Regions from separate parts of the Homo sapiens genome. Here regions 1 and 2 are each linked to region 3. The links are contacts of gene promoters, found by promoter capture Hi-C in blood cells and fetal thymus (Javierre and others, 2016). All regions are on one chromosome and are shown on one strand. Each heading gives the region's core, a stretch centred on a gene start or on the middle of the fragment in contact. The rest is flanking DNA. Distances are from core to core; before and after follow the strand shown. Region 1 overlaps BCL2L13 (BCL2 like 13). Region 2 overlaps BCL2L13 (BCL2 like 13). Region 3 holds the start of TMEM121B (transmembrane protein 121B).

The links. Contacts are between HindIII fragments. The CHiCAGO score rates a contact against its expected background, and 5 or more counts as called.
Region 1: a fragment that was not itself captured here is called in contact with the fragment with the promoter of TMEM121B in region 3 in 1 of 17 cell types (monocytes); the score reaches 5.0 in monocytes.
Region 2: a fragment that was not itself captured here is called in contact with the fragment with the promoter of TMEM121B in region 3 in 1 of 17 cell types (neutrophils); the score reaches 5.4 in neutrophils.

What each region holds. Positions count from the first base shown.
Region 1 is chr22:17,675,199-17,678,665 of GRCh38, forward strand. The region is part of intron 2 of BCL2L13 (BCL2 like 13); the gene reads left to right. Among named protein-coding and RNA genes, the nearest start is that of BCL2L13, 38 kb to the left of the region's middle. The HindIII fragment of the contact is 260 bases long and covers 1,349-1,608 here.
Region 2 is chr22:17,718,170-17,721,371 of GRCh38, forward strand. The region is part of intron 6 of BCL2L13 (BCL2 like 13); the gene reads left to right. Among named protein-coding and RNA genes, the nearest start is that of MIR3198-1, 44 kb to the right of the region's middle. The HindIII fragment of the contact is 3,886 bases long and covers 1-3,202 here.
Region 3 is chr22:17,119,441-17,122,881 of GRCh38, forward strand. It overlaps TMEM121B (transmembrane protein 121B), which reads right to left and starts at 1,920. Exons shown (of 1, transcript NM_031890.4): 1 at 1-1,920. The coding sequence starts at 1,687. It overlaps LINC01664 (long intergenic non-protein coding RNA 1664), which reads left to right and starts at 2,155. Exons shown (of 4, transcript NR_103793.1): 1 at 2,155-2,599. RefSeq lists a silencer at 1,632-1,761 and an enhancer at 2,347-2,878. The HindIII fragment of the contact is 5,742 bases long and covers 1-3,030 here.

The DNA of each region.
Region 1 (3,467 bases), core at 229-2,728, 560 kb after region 3:
ATTTCTTTTTTCCCACTAAGAGCTTTATAACATAGGACACAGAAATGCAGTAGAAAATGTTGTCAATATCGGCCAGACGCGGTGGCTCACTCCTGTAATCCCAGCACTTTGGGAGACCAGGGTGGGCAAATCATGAGGTCTACAATTCAAACCTTGTAGAAAAATGGATCCAATAGGTTATATTATCTGCAAGAAGTCTAAAACGTGTAGGTGTTCTGAGTTTCTGATTAAGGGGAGGTCAAGAGTAGAATGATAGATATTAAGTTAGAAATGTTTTTGTGGAATAGAGGGCTAACTTTTTTCAGCCTGGTTGTTATTTCTGTTTCTGTCATTGAAGTATGTTTGAAGGAGTGTTAGTAGCTACAAGAAGGATTGATTTCTCTTAAAAGCACGTTCATTCACTGTAGCTTATGACAGTGATTGATCAAAATTCTTACATTGTTGAGTATGACAGAGATTACCTTAGCCTGGAAAAAAATTGAAGGCAAGTCCATTAGAGGCAAGCCACCCTTGGAAACAGGTTGCAGAACATCTGGTATTCAGGAATACAGCTTTTTAGTAAAACTTCCCCAATCAATTTGTTGTGCAATGTCCAACAAATTTAAGCAACACATATTAAGCCATTCTCTCTAGCAGCAATTGAAGAGCAAGAATAACTGCCTGTCAAGATTTCTCCTAGTTTGTGTTAAAACAGCCTTATTTTATATTACATGGCATTATCTAAACTGACAGAGGTTGTCCTGCTATTCCTACCTTTCACAGTGTGGAAAGCAGGTTCTGTATAAGCATCTTTGATTAAAAATCTGTGATGAGCTAATTTCTGTTCACAGAGATAAGGGGCCAGGAAAGATAATTATCTAATAATACAATTTTAGAGCATGAAAAGAATTGGTGAGTGGGAGCACCTGTCGATTGGGCATTTATCTCATTACTCTTCACAACTACCCTTTGTGGTGGGTATTATTTTCCCATTTTATATAAGAGGAGAGACGGTGGCTCACGCCTGTAATCCCAGCACTTCGGGAGGCTGAGGCAGGCGGATCACTTCAGGTCAGGAGTTCGAGACCAGCCTGGCCAACATGGCAGAACCCTATCTCTACTAAAAACAAAAAAAAATAGGCAGGTGTGGTGGCACACGCCTGTACTCCCAGCTACTTGGGAGGCTGAGGTGGGAGAATTGCTTGAACCCAGGAGGTGGAGGTTGCAGTGAGCCGAGACTGCACCACTGCACTCCAGCCTGGGTGACAGAGCGAGACTCTGTCTCAATTAAAAAAATAATCATAAAGAGGAGAGGGTCAAGAAGATTATTTTCCTTGCCCAAGTGAAGAGTTAGAAGGCCTGACTCCAAAGCTTATCAACCACTTTACGGCTGTTTTCCAGGAAGCTGGAAGGGAAAGAGAGAATTTTATTGCAAGAAATAGCATGGGCCGTGAATTAATTTCTGAGCTTGTGTTTGATTTCACTTAATAATGTCATGATGTATTCTGGAGATCACTGTATCTTGTGCAGTTATATTAATCAGTGCTGTTGCAGAGCCATCTAACACTACAAATTACTTCTAAAGGGAAAACCTGTTATAATTATAAACAGTAATGGAGATTTAGTAGAAGCTTATCTGTAAAGGTAGACTTTTATGCTTTATGAGAATTTATAAAGATTAGGATAAATTGGCATAGGATCTTTCTAGGATAAATTGGCCTCAAATTTTTGCATAATAGATTGTTTTATGTAACATTTTCAAGTTTTTATGAATGTAGTTTATCAAAGTTATTTACTTAGGCAGAAGTAAGTGAAATGTCATTAAGCAAAGTATATGCTATTGGTGACATTGAGGAGATCCTTTGTGTTACATTTCAACTTTTAAGGATTCTGGCACTTAGGGAGGCAGAGGCAGGAGGATGGCTTGAGCCCAGGAGTTTGAGACCTGCCTAGGCAATATAGTGAGACCCTATTCTCAAAAAATAAAAAAATAAAAAAATAAAAGGATTTGAATTTTATTTTGGTTAGTCTCATCTCATAAGGAAAGTGTTTTATGTCGCTTAAAGCCATGTTATTTTTGTCAGCTTTAAAAGTAGAAAATGAATCAGAATCTGTGATACGTAAAAATGTTTAACCTTTTGTTTTTTAAAGGTATTTTAAATACCTGTGGATGATAGAATAATCAAGTTTCTTGACCTTAATAGAATTAATTAATTCAAAGCCCATCTGAGAATTTGGGATTCTTTAATTTGGTTGCAAAAAATGAAAACATAGGCAGAGCCTGGTGGCTCATGCCTGTAATCCCAGCGTGAGGGAGGCCAAGGTGGGCGGCCTGCTTGAGCCCAGGAATTTGAGACCAGCCTGGCCAACAAGGCAAAACTTTGTCTCTACCAAAAAAAAGAAAAACCCCACACAGCTGGGCGCGGTGGCTCACACCTGTAATCCCAGCACTTTGGGAGTCTGAGGCAGGTGGATCATGAGGTCAGGAGATCGAGACCATCCTGGCCAACATGGTGAAACCCTGTCTCTACCAAAAATACAAAAATTAGCTGGGTGTGGTGGTGTGCACCTGTAGTTCTAGCTACTCAGGAGGCTGAGGCAGGAGAATCACTTGAACCCAGGAGGCAGAGGTTGCAGTGAGGCGAGATCGCGCCATTGCATGATCTGGCGACAGAGCGAGACTCTGTCTCAAAAAAAAAACAAAAAAACCCCACAAAAATTAGCTGGGCATGGTGGTGTGTACCTGTAGTGCCAGCTACTTGAGAGGCTGAGGTGGGAAGATCGCTTGAGCCTAAGAGGTTGAGGCTCTTGTGAGCCATGATAGTGCCACTGCACTCCAGCCTGGGCAACAGGGTGAGACCCTGTCTAGAAACATAAAATATATAGAAGTGCTGAAGTGCAGTGGTGCAGTCATGGCTCACAGCAGCCTCGACCTCCCAGGCTCAAGTGATCTTCACACATCAGGCTCCCGAGTATCTTGGACGATGGGAACATGCCACTGTGCTCAGCTAGTTTTTTTTATTTTTCGTAGAAACAAGGTCTAGCTATGTTGCGCAGGCTGTTCTTGAACTCCTAAACTTAAACAATCCTTCTGCCTCGGCCTCCCAAAGTGCTGAGATTACAGGCATGAGCACCACACCCAACTGAAGTGAAGATTAAATAAGGGGACATGAAAGTCCCTGTCAGAAGACAGTATCACCGATATAGACAGCCTTTCTGCTCTCTGTTAACTATTTAATCATGTCAGAAATGTTTCTGAGATCTTTCATTCCTAGCCACCCAACCAGAAGATGACGAGAGCACAGCCTGGATTAACGATTTTGTAGTCAGACTCACCAGAGTTCCAATTATAACTTCTTTATGGTAGTGGTAGAACCTATCCAAGCTTCAGTTTCCTCATCTTCAAATGGAACTATTATTTCATCCCTCATAAGGTTGACTTGGAAATTAAATGAAATAACACATAGGAAATGTTTACTACCGTGCCT
Region 2 (3,202 bases), core at 48-2,547, 600 kb after region 3:
GAGGGAAAAGAAGATTGCTTACATTAGAGTAATACCAGAAAATGTTGATGGAAGGGAAGAGATGTATTTAGATATTAGAAGATATATTTAGGAATAAATACATTGAGATATATTTAGTACTTAATGATTAAATAAAAGGAGGGGAAAATGATGAGATAGATGCTAGCCAAAATATTAGGTATGGGGTAAGACAGAAGTGATGTAGAGTTAGTACTTGTAGTTTATAGTCTTCAGTACGACAAGCATTCTCTTCTGGCTGGCTGTATTGCGTGAGTTCTGCAGTTGATGGATATATAGACTTTATGTACTGCATTTGGTTGTGAGGTACTCTTTGTTAGCATTCATTATTGATGATGGTCCCAGAAATGTGTAATGGTTTTACATTATGCCTATACTAATGAAAATGTAATGAGAGTTTGAAAGAGATGAAATCCCGTAAGATTATAGCAGTGACAGTCTGTTTTAGCCATGTGGGGTTTGAAGTCTGGGAAAGGAATCCATATGAGGAATGGCACTAATGGCAGAGATCTTTTTGAAGATTTTTAAAAATTATTAATTAGCATAGACTACTAGTTCCTCTCATAGACCTAGTTTTTAGGACACCTTGTTTATCTCCCTGTTTCCTTTAGTCTCAACCCAATTACAAGCACCTTGCAATTATATCAGTATCTAATTTTGTAGCAGTCTTATTTAAGAATTAAAAACGCGGTCAGGTGTGGTGGCTCATGCCTGTAATCCCAGCACTTTGGGAGGCTGAGGTGGGTGGATTACTTGAGATCAGGAGTTCAAGACTAGCCTGGGCAACATGGTGAAACCCCGTATCTACAAAAATACAACAGCCAGGCACAGTGGTGCATGCCTGTAATCCCAGCTACTTGGGAGGCTGAGGCAGAAGAATTGCCTGAACCCAGGAGGCCAAGGTTGCAGTGAGGCGAGATGGCACCACTACACTCCAGCCTGGGAGACAAAGCAAGGCTCTGTCTCAAAAAAAAAAAAAAAAAAAAAAAAGAATAAAAAATTCTCACAATCCAACATAAAAACACAACTCTATTTAAAAATGGGCAAAAGATTTGAATTACACGTCATTCTAAAGAAAATGTACAAATGGCCAATTAGCACATGAAAAGATGTTCAACATCATTATTTTCAGAAATGTTTTGGAATTCCAAAAATATTTGGAAATATTTTTCTAAATTTTTTGGAGAATAATTTGACGTAAAATTACCATATGATCTGGCAGTTTTACTCCTGCTGTATTCAAAATAATAAAAACATTCAAACAAAAACTAGTACATGGACATTTATAACAACACTATTCTAAAGAGTAGAATCAACCCAAATGTTCACCAGCTAATTAATAAGTAAAATGTCGTGCCTACCTACAATGAAATATTATTCTCAGCCATAAAGAAGAATGAAGTACGGCCGAGGCAGGTGGATCATGAGGTCAAGAGATCGAGACCATCCTGGCCAACTTGGTGAAACCCCATCTCTACTAAAAATACAAAAATTAGCTGGGCGTGGTGGTGGGCGCCTGTAATCCCAGCTACTCAGGAGGCTGAGGCAGGATAATCGCTGGAATCCGGGAGGCGGAGGTTGCAGTGAGCCGAGATCACGCCACTGCACTCCAGCCTGGCGAAAGAGTGAGACTCCATCTCAAAAAAAAAAAAAAAAAAAAAAAGAATGAAGTATGGATACATGCTACAACATGGGTGGGCCTTGAAAACATTATGCTAAGTGGAAGCAGCCAGATACAGAAGGCTATATTGCATGACTCCATTTCTACTTCTCAGAATAGGCAATCCGTAGAGATAGAACGTAGATTAGTGATTGCCAGGGGATGAAAAGGGGGAGAATGGAGAGTGACTACCAAAGGGTGTCTTTTTGGGATGATGGAAATTTTCTGGCAATTGTAATGTGGTTGCACAACACTATGAATATACTAAAAACCACTGAATGGTACACCTAGAAATGGTGGGTTTCATTTTCTTTCTTTCTTTCTTTCTTTCTTTCGTTAGAGACAGGGTCTCGTTCTGTCATTCAGGCTGCAGTGCAGTGGCACGATCATGGCTCACTGTAGCCTTGACCTCCCAGGCTCAAGTGATTCTCCCACCTCAGCCTCCTGAGTAGCTGAGTAGCTGGGACTACAGGTGTACATCACCAAGACCAGCTAATTTTTTAAATTTTTTAATTTTTCTTTTTTTGAGATGGAGTTTCACTCTTGTTGTCCAGGCCGGAGTGCACTGGCGCGATCTCGGCTCACCACAACCTCCACCTCCCAGGTTCAAGTGATTCTCCTGCCTCAGCCTTCCAAGTAGCTGGGATTACAGGCATGTGCCACCATGCCTGGCTAATTTTTTTGTATTTTTACATGTAGTAGAGATGGGGTTTCTCCATGTTGATCAGGCTGGTCTCGAACTCCTGACCTCAGGCGATCAGCCTGCCTCCGCCTCCCAAAGTGCTGGGATTACAGGCGTGAGCCACCGTGCCCGGCCTTAATTTTTTTTTTTTTTTTAGAGGCGGGATCTCACTGTGTTGCCCAGGTTGGTTTCAAATTCCTGGGCTGAAGTGATCCTCTCTCCTTTGCCTTCCAAAATGTTGGGATTATAGGTGTGAGCCACTGTGCCTGGCTATGAATTTTTATGTTATGTGAATTTTATGAATATGAATCTCAATACTAAAAGAATAAAAAGTTTTTAAAAATTGATAATAACAGGCCGGGCGCGGTGGCTCACGCCTGTATTCCCAGAACTTTAGGAGGCCGAGGCGGGTGGATCACGAGGTCAGGAGATCGAGACCATCCTGGCTAACATAGTAGAAACCCTGTCTCTACTAAAAATACAAAAAATTAGCCAGGCATGGTGGCGGGCGCCTGTAGTCCCAGCTACTCGGGGGGAGGCTGAGGCAGGAGAATGGCATGAACCCGGGAGGTGGAGCTTACAGTGAGCCGAGATCGTGCCACTGTACTCCAGCCTGGGGGACAGGGCGAGACTCCGTCTCAAAAAAAAAAAATATATATATATTTCCACGTGCCCCACGCCGCATTTCAGATGTGCGAAATTCAGACATTCAGGAGCCTCTTCACCTGATTCAAATTGTTCCACAGTTCCTGTGGGGATTGTTGAGTATCTACTAATCTCATGTTCCCAGGAAGTAGCAGAGCCCTGTTCATATTTACATTCTTTTAGTTTTTAAATTTTTG
Region 3 (3,441 bases), core at 670-3,169:
CCTCGTTCTCCGAGATGCAGTGGCCCAGCTGGGAGCCTCCCTGAGGTGGTGGCGGAGGTGGTGGAGGGGCGGAGGGCGGAGCACCGTAGCCCCCTCTGGCCCGACTCGGGGAGGCCCGATTGCCCCGGTCCCAGCAGCCCTCCAGGGCCTCCAGGCCCCGGCAGCCGAGGAAGAAGAGGTTCTTGAGCATGAAGATGGAGAGGGGCTGCTGGTAGCTGACCACCAGGAGGCAGCGCAGCGCCAGCAAGGGCACGTCCACCAGGCAGCCGCCCAGCAGGCGCAGAAGGCGGCTGCAGCTGCCAGGCCCGGAGGCCTGGCCCCAGGATGCAGCCGCTGCGGCCGCGGCGTTGAGCTCGTAGAGCCAGAGCACCGGCGAGGCGAGGGTGAGGAAGTAGACGGCGATAAGCAGGTAGCGCAGGTGCGCGGGCAGCGGCACGCGGCCCTCCAGCATCAGCTCCACCAGCGTGAAGCTGTCGAGCAGGTCCAAGCACGTGCCCAGGAAGCATCCGGCCGCGCGGTGCCGCTGGGGCTGCAGCAGCAGGGGTCCTGCCGATCCCGGGGGCGCGCCCGCCTCGCTGATGGCCCGCACCAAGCTGTAGAGCAGGGGCACCGACAGCGCCATGGTGAGACGGAAGCCCGTGGTGCCGAAGGGCGCGCGTAGCTCGATGAGGTCTAGGATGGACGTGCCCAGGATCAGCACCACCTTGGGAGTGAAGGCGATGGAGTAGATAAGCCAGGCCAGGTAGGCGAAGGCGAACTCGCCCGCTGCCGCGGCCGCCCCCAGGCCGCCCCCCGCGCCGCCGGCGCCCCCGCGGGCTCCGCGTGCCTTGGCCCCAGCGGTAGCGGCCGAGGGGGCGGGCAGATGCAGGGGCGGCGCGGCGTGGTGGTGGTGCAGGTGGTGGTTGTGCGCGCCGCTGGCTGCGCCGCCCCGACGGCCCCGGCTGTTCTTGGCGAAGAAGATGGCCCAGCCCACCACCACCACCAGGTCAGTGGCGATCCAGGAGCACCAGTACAGGTCGGTGACGGCGATGAGGTACAGGTCCAGCAGGCCGCCCTGCGCCAGCAGCAGCACCACGGACAGCGCCTGGTAGCCCCAGCGGCACCTGGGACTGGGGGCGCAGCCGCGGCGCCGACCTCTGCGGCCGGGGCGGTCTGGGCAGCCGCAGCAGCAGCAACACGGGCAGCAGGAGGCGCCGCTGCCGGTCCCGGTGCCGCCCGCGCCCCCCGCCGAGCGGCTCCCGGGGCCCCCGACGGCCCCGGCCGCGGCGCCCCCGCCGAAGTCCGCGGCTGTCATGCTGCAGGAGGAGGTGGGCGTGGAGGTGGAGGAGGAGGTGGCCGCTGAGGAGGAGAAGGCGACAGGCGCGGGGCCGGCGGGGGCGCCCACCTGAGCCGGCGGCCCCAGGAGCGCGGCGTTGGGCACCAGCGGCTTGCTGACGCTGAGGCTCTCGTCGTCGTCCTCGCGCTCGGCGCCCGTGCTGCTGCTCGGGGAGCCGCCGCCCCCGCCGCGTCTGCCGCCGCCTCCCCCGCGGCTGGTGCTGGTGCTGGTGCTGCTGTCGCCGGAGCCTCTCCGGCCGCGGAAGGAGCCCCCGCGGAGGAAGAGGGGCTGCAGCCGGGCGGCTGCCGGGGGCGGCGGGAAGGAACCGGACGCGGAGGAGACCGAGCGAGGGTGGCCGAGCGCCGGGCGCATTGTCCTCCGAGGGGCTCTGGGGCCGCCCAGCTGTTCCCTCCCCGCCAACCCCGGGCGGGCGAGGCGGGCTAGGCGGCCGAGGGGAGCCGGGGCCCGCCGCCTCCCCAGCAGTGGGGACTCGCACCTGGGCCGGGCGGCGGCGAGATCCGGACTGGAGCCACTGGACTGGGCGAGCCGGGCCGGGCGGCAGGGAGAGGGGGCAGGCGGTGAACCGAGCGGACCGCGGTGAAGACAGGCGAGGCGGGGGCGGGGCGGGGCGGGGCGGGGAGCGAGTCCCGCCGGGAGGGAGGGAGGCTGGCGGCGGGGAAACCAGGACTGGATTCGAGGGGGAGAGGAAGCAGCGAGACCAGAGGAGGAGAAAGCGCGGCGCGCTGGATCAACGGGAAGAGAAGGGGCGGGGGTGCAGTGCGTCACAGTCGGGTCGGGAGCCCTGTGGCCTGGAGGAAGCGGGAGGAGGCGCGGGCAGCCGCCAGGGCGAGGCGACCCGGTGCGGGGGGACTCCCATGGAGCGCGGACTCCTAAGGAAGTCGCTGGGAATCCCACCGGCTGTACCGCAGGGCGTTAGTACCTAGATGGCTTCGGTGCCCCCAAGCGATGGGCTCAAGCTACAGGGCGGGCTTTGCACCTGGCCTTCTCAGCTCTGAGGCAGGCAGTGGGCAGCTTCGCCTCCACCCTCCGTCCAGCGCCCTTCCCATGGGGCCATCCGCCTCTCCCTAAGGCACTAAAAACCAGTGGAGGAGTCAGGCCATGTTGGCAAAAAGGGCTCGGGCAGCAGCCCCAGACCTATAGTCCTAAATATCCATGTACCCAGCCCTGGGGTCGCGAGCCATCTCAGGGACGACCCGATTCCAGCGGATGGAGAAGTTCCCTGAAAACACCTGCCTGGGAGGAGAGACGAGGGAACGAGATTGGGCAAGTGGCATCCGCCCAGCGGGCTTCTCAAAGGTTTTTAAAGCAGAATGGGACGTAATAGGAAGATGTGTCTAGCAGAGAGTAAAATAAAGGGGCATTTAGAGGTGTGGGCACCTGGATGAAAACAAAGGCTCCAAAGGGATGATGGTGAGGGTTACAGCCCACCACAGTAGACAGAGACACCAAGGAAGGAATGCAGTCAGTGGCCCTGCGTAGACAGTCTCAGGAGAGAGCACACCAGCTCACCCCAGGACTCATCCAAGGCTGGGGATGGATGTCGATGCAGCAACTCTGGAAGGCAGAAGGTAGAGTGCTGCCTTTAGGGGTTTAAGGGAGAAGGAAATGACTAGAGCAGTTGGGGCTCAAAAACAATCTGAGGTTCACCAATAATGGAAACATCCCATTCCCAGCCCCATGAAAACAAGGCAGAAAGCTTGCCTGCCCTATTGGCCTCTGCACCCTTGTGGGGCCTGTGGGCTCCCTGATTTCATGACCTTTGAAGCTGCTGCTGCGGGCTCATCTCCCCTAGGTAACAGCTTGCAGCGTGATAACACCATGCAGTGTGAGGGAGCTGTATGCAGTGGAGCCGCAGGGGTTAGTCAGGCCTCGCCCCTAAATCTGCCTCTTAAATAAGAGTCCGTTTCAGCCAAACCTGCCTTTTCCAGTTCCGTGGAGGTCAGTCTGCACAGCCAATCCCTGGTAAATATACAATTTAGAACCTGCACCATCTCCACCTCCCCCACACACACCACTTTTGGAAAGCTGGCATGGTGGTGAGGGCAGGAGCTCTGGGGCCGCCATCCCACCTGTGCCACTTAACACCTTTGTGGTCTTAGCCTGAA